Linked DNA regions of Homo sapiens: region 1 is linked to region 2. The links are contacts of gene promoters, found by promoter capture Hi-C in blood cells and fetal thymus (Javierre and others, 2016). All regions are on one chromosome and are shown on one strand. The core of a region is centred on a gene start or on the middle of the fragment in contact, and the rest is flanking DNA. Distances in the headings are between cores, read along the strand shown. Region 1 overlaps ZNF274 (zinc finger protein 274). Region 2 holds the start of ZNF772 (zinc finger protein 772).

The links. Contacts are between HindIII fragments. The CHiCAGO score rates a contact against its expected background, and 5 or more counts as called.
Region 1: a contact is called between a fragment that was not itself captured here and the fragment with the promoter of ZNF772 in region 2, in 1 of 17 cell types (fetal thymus). The highest score is 5.2, in fetal thymus.

The regions. Positions count from the first base shown.
Region 1 is chr19:58,199,686-58,203,400 of GRCh38, reverse strand. The region is part of intron 4 of ZNF274 (zinc finger protein 274); the gene reads right to left. Among named protein-coding and RNA genes, the nearest start is that of ZNF274, 18 kb to the right of the region's middle. The HindIII fragment of the contact is 4,047 bases long and covers 1-3,674 here.
Region 2 is chr19:57,476,075-57,479,521 of GRCh38, reverse strand. It overlaps ZNF772 (zinc finger protein 772), which reads left to right and starts at 1,956. Exons shown (of 4, transcript NM_001144068.2): 1 at 1,956-2,245; 2 at 2,850-2,888. The coding sequence starts at 2,213. RefSeq lists enhancers at 1,442-2,641, 2,232-2,755. The HindIII fragment of the contact is 1,804 bases long and covers 498-2,301 here.

The sequences.
Region 1 (3,715 bases), core at 402-2,901, 720 kb before region 2:
TCTTGGCCAGGCTGGTCTCGAACTCCTCACCTCAGGTGATCCGTCCATCTCGGCCTCCCAAAGTGCTGGGATTACAGGTGTGAGCCACCGTGCCCAGCCCAATTACAGCTCTTAAGGCTTGAATTTTTCCTGAGAAGCAGCTGGGGATAAGATTTACTGGAGGCCCAGCAGCACCGGACTAAGTGCCTAGGACATGGGACATGCACCAACTGAATCTGTACTTCCTGGGGGGGGGCTAAGTGGCAGACCAGCACTGGGCCACCAGTACTATTTTAGGTAACCATGCATGACACTTAAACATCTTAAACGTTACTTCATAAATTTCTAAAATTTCATTTTTGTATTCCTTAATCGAGGGATTTTCATGCCTTGGCCCCTAGGAAAACAACTGTTGGATTCTTCTACTCCACCCCACCCCTTTCTAATGTACTTACTTCTGCTTTAATCTTTATTATTAACCCATGAGGCCCCACACTCTGTTCTGTACACAGTTATCATAAAGCACCTTTTGCATGCTGTGGAACCAAGGACACCACAGTGAACAGAGAGACCACAAACCCAGAAACTGGTGAGGAAGTGATGGACTCATTCTGTGCACCTCAGTCCTCCAAATGTCAACCCATAGACTATCCCAAGACCTTTAGGGCAATCCTTACCACTGTCTATTGCAGGAAATTAGCTGCTCCACTTCATGGAGGAGAAAATGGAAGCTCTTAAGTTCACCACCAGGCAGAGGTGGAACTGGATTCTCATTCCACCCATCTCATTCCACAGACATGACTGACCCAACCCACTCATGTGGAGCTGCATAATCCCTATCAGCTGGAGCTCCAAATGGCTTTCAGTCCAGCAACTGAATGAGCCCGTAGCAATGTAGTCACCTCACCTACAACTGTCTGTCTAATGGGTTGTGAAACAAATTCACTGAGGCTCAAAGCAAGGGGTTTAATCAAGAGAGATTAACTTCTTGAGCCTGAGTTTCTTCACCCAAAGTGATGAGATACCAAAGTCCAGGCACAGCATGTGGTAAGGGCTTGATGGGAGCTGCTGCTTTCTCCCTCTTGACACTATTTTCTTCTCTCAGGATACTTCTACCTCTCTGCTGCTTCCCTTCCAGGGTGACAAACAGGCCTTAGGCAGCTGTCTTCCTCACAGTGCTGTTTGCCAGTGAATGCTGATTAGCCAGGTATACCAGTCCAAAATATAACGAAAAGCAATGATCTTTTTAGCAGCTTGTGGGGGAAAAGTCAGAAGAGTACTTACCCTCAGCTCCCCTAATCCCTGGGCACAGTACCCCATCACTTTTCCTCCTTGTCTGGAAAGCTCTCAGCTCTCCTGTTCTCTCTCATCATTCCCTCAGTGCCCCTAAGCTCCCTGTTGGATTACCTTCTGCATCTGTCTCCTCCAGTGTACCACTGAGGCTGCCAACTGGGACTTGTGGATCTCACACCCCTAAGTAGAGGATCTGCCAAAGGCTGCTGATCATCTTTACGTTACTCAGTTTTTGAATCAATGACAGTACCATCATTTCACGAAGGCTGCCCACAGTCCCAGGAAGCAAATGTACACCATACACAAAAGAAATATGCCTGGTGCGGTGACTCATGCCTGTAATCCCAGCACTTTGGGAGGCCGAGGTGGGCAGATCACAAGGTCAGGAGTTTGAGACCAGCCTGGCCAATATGGTGAAACCCCGTCTCTACTAAAAACACAAAAGTTAGCTAGGCGAGGTGGCGGGCACCTGTAGTCCCAGCTACCTGGGAGGCTGAGGCAGGAGAATCACTTGAACCCAGGAGGTGGAGGTTACAGTGAGCTAAGATCACACCACTGCACTCCAGCCTGGGCGACAGTGCAAGACTCCATCTCAGAAAGAAAAAAAAAAAAAAGAAATTCATGCTGGGATAGGCTAGGAACCCTGCCCAGGGTTGCAGAGTGGATGATCCGGTTTGGTTCTGTGTCCCTACCAAATCTCAGGTTGAAAAGTGATGCTGTGTTGGAGGTGGGGCCTGGTGAACCTTCAAGAATGGCTTAGCACCATCCTCCTGGTGGTTAAGTTAATCACACGAGATCTGGTTGTTTAAAAAAGTGTGGCCGGGCAGAATGGCTCACGCCTGTAATCCCAGCACCTTGGGAGGCTGAGGTAGGTGGTTCGCTTGAGCCCAGGAGTTCTAGACCGGCCTGGGCAACATGGCAAAACCCCATCTCCACAAAAAAAAAAAAAAAAAAAAATTAGCCAGGCGTAGCGGCATGTGCCTGTAGTCCTGGCTACTCAGGAAGCTGAGGTGGGAGAATCGCTTGAACTCAGGAAGTCGAGGCTGCAGTGGGTCATGATCGCACCACTGTACTACCGCCTAGGTGAGAGTGAGACCGTGTCTCCAAAAAAAAAAACAAAACAAACAAACAACAGTATGCGGCACCTTCTTCCTCTCTCTGGCTGCTGCTTTTCCCATGATGTGCCTGCTCCCTGCCTTCCACCATGAGTAAAAAGCTCCCTGAGGCCTCCCCAGAAGCCAACCAGATGCCAGTGCCACCCTTGTACAGCCTGCAGAACTGTGAGCCAATTAAATCTCTTATCTTCATAAATAACCCAGTCTCAGGTATTTACAGCAATTTAAGAACGGCCTAACATAGTGGGCAACAAAGGAGCCGGGTTCCAAACCCTGTTATTTCATGTCCTTGACGCTAAAGGGGTCTCCCACAGCCACCATCTTAGTTTTCCTAGAATATGGCCTTTCATCCAGAGATCCACATGTGCACCACCCTCCTGCCTGGTATAGTCTTCCCCAACATCTTCGCCTGGTTCACCTTCCCCAACATCTTCACCTGGTTCGCCTTTCCCATTCAGGTCTGAGCTCAAACGTCACCTCCTCAGAACCATCTTCCTACTTAGTTCTGAACTACTGCTGCCCACCCGTACCTCGCTTGTCCCCCACCAATGTATCCCATTGTTTCCTTCTCTTTCCAACACTCATTACCATCCCAAATATCTGATTCATTAATTTATCATGTCTATCACCCTATCTAGAGCAGTGCTGTCCAATGGAACTTTCTATAAATGAGATGTTCTAGATCTGTACTGTCCAACATAGTAGCATTAGCTGCAGGGCCAATGAGCAGTTGAAAGGTGCCCAGTGCAATTGAGGTACTGAATGGGCAACTTCATTTTTGTTGATCCAATCAGCCATGGAATGGATGTAGGCCCAATGAAAGCAGGTGTAAGACCTGCCCCACTCATCACTGTGATCCAGCCCTGGAACAGTACCTGGAATCCTGGCAAGTGCTCAAGTAATATTTGTTGATTCAACACAGCTTCTTTGCAACATGAAAGCACACATAGTTTGCACCCCACTTGCTTCTTCTCAGCCAAGCCCATGTCAGGGACTTGTATTTCTGGTCCCATGGTAAAATGGCCCCAGCAGCATTTCTCCAGAGGTTGATGGCTAGAATGACTTCAGGACTCAGGAAAAGGACATCAGTACTTCTAGCCTTTTTAAGCCCTCAAAATAAGTTAATACTTCTATTTATCAAGTCTTCCACACTCCAGCACTTACAACTTTCTTCAAATAGGTCCTGCTCATTCTTTAATAATTTATTCTTTGGTATAACTTTTTAAAGGTATTAATGTATTTTGTATATCCATGTCAAATTTGATATTCCTGGTGTAAACCAAAGCTTTTTCTTTCTTTTTGAGATGGAATCTCGCACCATAAGCCAG
Region 2 (3,447 bases), core at 707-3,206:
TGTGCTTTCAATCACAATTCAAATTCTGTGGAAATTCACTGAAGAAAAGAGAATACCTCGTGAAGCGTGTTTTGGTCCATCAAAAATTACTAACTGCTTATTTGAGTATTTATTGCATAGTCATTTAGGTTTTGCAAAAGTTGTCAAAACCAAAATGAGTAACTTGTGTAAAATAAATAAATAAGTAAATAAATAAATAAAGCCAGGAGGCTGAGAAAAGAGGGCACTCAAACACACATGCTTAAGATAAGAGCTATTACTGTCTCTGAGGGCTCTTAATGCACATATTCCCGTTAAAAGAAGTTTTGACAAGAACTTCTCAAACCGCAGCTTGCTACAGGAGTTACAAGGACAGCTCTAGATGTAGTAGAACACTTGCCTGACAGATTGTCTCCACTAATGAACTGGTGTTAACCTCTGCCATAAACATCTGTGACCAATGTTCTTTTTATCTCAAAACAAATTATATATACTTTTCCCTTTTGCCTTTGAAAGCTTCTCCTTGTTTCAAGCTCTCTGGATATGCCTATAGTCCCTATAGCCTGCATGTCCTGGATTTGCAAATCCCCTGTGCATTCCTGAATGAACTCAACATCTTTGAAGAATCTCTGTTATTTAGGTTGACAGTTTAAATATATCCTACATTGTGCTTTTCTTTGCCTCACTTCTTCCACTTATTTTACTATTATTTTACCTTTCTATTGATTATTTATTTATATTCCAAACATTTCCTCTTCTAGTTTGAAAAGTATATACGCTGACTGTATTTATTATATTTAGGCTAAAAATTACAAACGTTTAACACATTAGCGTGCCATACAGGATTGTAATACATTTGCTTTCCACTTGGAAATATAAAAAATTTAAAACTTTGAGCAACTAGCCTCCTTTCAATTTATATGTAGTTGAGGTTACGCACGGGAATTCCATCATTCTAACTCAATAAGTATATCTACTTATGTTTTACACTGTAATATGCTGTTATTTTAATCAAAAGATGCACTTCTTTTCATCTTCATTTCTTCTCTCATTGCAGACTTTTCACCTGAGATCAACTTTCTTTGGCCTTGAGTATTATTTTAAACATTATTTTTTGTGTAAATGTATTTCCATTACATTTATCATTTTTGGTTTCAAATAGTTTTATATCACACTTCCATAAAAGACATTTTGTTGTGTATAGACATCTAGTTTGGTGGTTATTTCTTCTTTACAGAAAGTGTTCATGTTGCCCTTTTCATTGCCATATGACATTTGATGAATTCTGTCTTTTCAGACACTTGTAAAACACTTAAAATATTGAATACATCTCTGTATATGGAGTATGAAATACTATCTTGAACAAGAGTATTACTTGTTGGGTTTGACACAATCACTGCTGTATAAGCAGGATAAATATTTTCTGAGGTAACAGACAGAAGGGTTATTCACTTACTTCAAGGCCACCAAACATCCCCACTCCACGTTCCACATCATGGTGTCTGGAGTCTTTTCTTTCTTGTGCCTGACAGAAAATGCTGAGGCTCGCCAAACTAACTCTGGAGCATCAGGCTACACGCATTTGAAAACAATATTTGTTAACTTCCAGCCATAGAAATCTGAGTGACGTCAGTGTATGGTGTGTCCATTTTATTTTTTGATGAGCATTCTCTGCGTAAGGAAGGCTGAAATCATGTCTCTAAACATTCCTTTGATGTCAAACACGACGTTCACCAGAAATACAGATATGGCTCCTTCAAGAGGAAGCTAAGCTCCGTCTGGGCCTTGGAGACGAGGGACACCATTTCCACGCGCCCCTGGCGGTCTTCTCTGGGCTTTTAACCTGGAGGTGAAGCGAGACGCCGCTTACTAGTGTTGGTGCCGTGGGAACTACATTACCCAGGAAACTTGGCGGCTCTGGGCCAATGAAAACCCAGGAAATAGGCGTTTCCGTTGGTCCTCACCAACGTCAGGGCGGGACTTCCTCTACCATCCTCGGGTGGACATTTTGTTTGCTTTTCCATTAATCCACTGGTTTAGTTTCCAGAACGCAATGTCAGACCTGAGGTGACAGAAAAGGGAAAACGTGAGAGAGTGTCTTCTTCCCTGAAGAGAGGTGGGCCTGAGGCTTGACAGTGGCGCTGCCTGAGTGACCTAGCCGCTGGGCTGGGCCCTGGACAGCTGATCCCAGGTTCCTGCACTTGTCGCCACCCTTCCGTAGTCCACAGGCCTGATGGCGGCGGCTGAGCCGATGGGCCCGGCACAGGTGGGTGCTGCGTCTGCGAGTCTGCGCGCTGACCCCCATCTCTGAATCCCAAAGCTTCGAATGAACGATTCCTCGGGTTACTGCAGCTCAGGCCCCTGTATCTAGAACAGTGGGGGCGCTCGTGTTTGGGACCCATTTTGACAGCACGAGTTGAAGGACGTTCCAGGCAGAGAGACCAGTGTATGCAAAGGCTCAGAGATGGTTCACAGCTGGAGCATTTGGGAAAACTGGGCCTTTAGTGTCTGAAAGGATCAGAGCGCTTTATAAGTGATTGCACCTGGAATATCATCCTGAGCAGCTGGGTCTCTATTCTGAGGGTGATGGGAGCCATGGAAGGTTCTGAACAGAGGAGAGCCAGAATCCGAGGGTTTAAAAAGTATTCCATAGACTGCTCATGGAGGGCAGACTCTTGTTGGCCATGGGGGCGGATAATGAGCACTGTTCCGAGCTAACACAGTTAAGAGGTATCCTTGAAGATGGAAGCACAGAGGGTAGACATTCAGCTCCCAGGCACATTGTAACTGGGTAGGAATATGGGATGGGGTTGAGCCTTTGGGGTTCCTTCAAGATTGCTTGACTCGCATAGTCTCCCTCTTCCCCACAGGTTCCCATGAACTCAGAAGTAATTGTGGACCCTATACAGGTGAGGGGAGAATGTCCATGCTCTCACCGATCCCACCCCCACCCAATACGCTCTCCAGCATTGTGGTGTTATATAGAACACTCTCCTGCTACTCTCCGATCTCTTGGGTCTGAGGACTCTGGAGAAGCCCCAAGCCCAGGGTCCTGACTCCGGGCCAGGGGTTTTATGGAGGGGTTTCCATTTCTGCCAACCATTGGAATAAGGTTGGAAGGTTGTTCCAGGCACAGGAACCAGCCTGTGCAAAATACTTAGAGGTGAGACTGAGAAGGGAGTTTTCAAGAAATTGCAGGTCTCTGTCATGTCTGGTGGGAACCAAGAGCAAGGGGGCGGGAATCATCCTGAAATGGCTTAAAGATGATTATGTAGATTGGGAGTTAAAAGAGAATATTCATTTCACAGTGGTAGTGCATTTAGTGAGCCAGGAAAGTGATGGTGGAGAGCCAGAGTTGTGAGATAACTGTGATCCAAAGAGTGATGTACATATGGAAAGAAGTGTAGACTGATGACGTCTGGGCTTAAAGGAGAAAGGCAAGCCCATCTTTGGTTGTCTGGTAAGCAT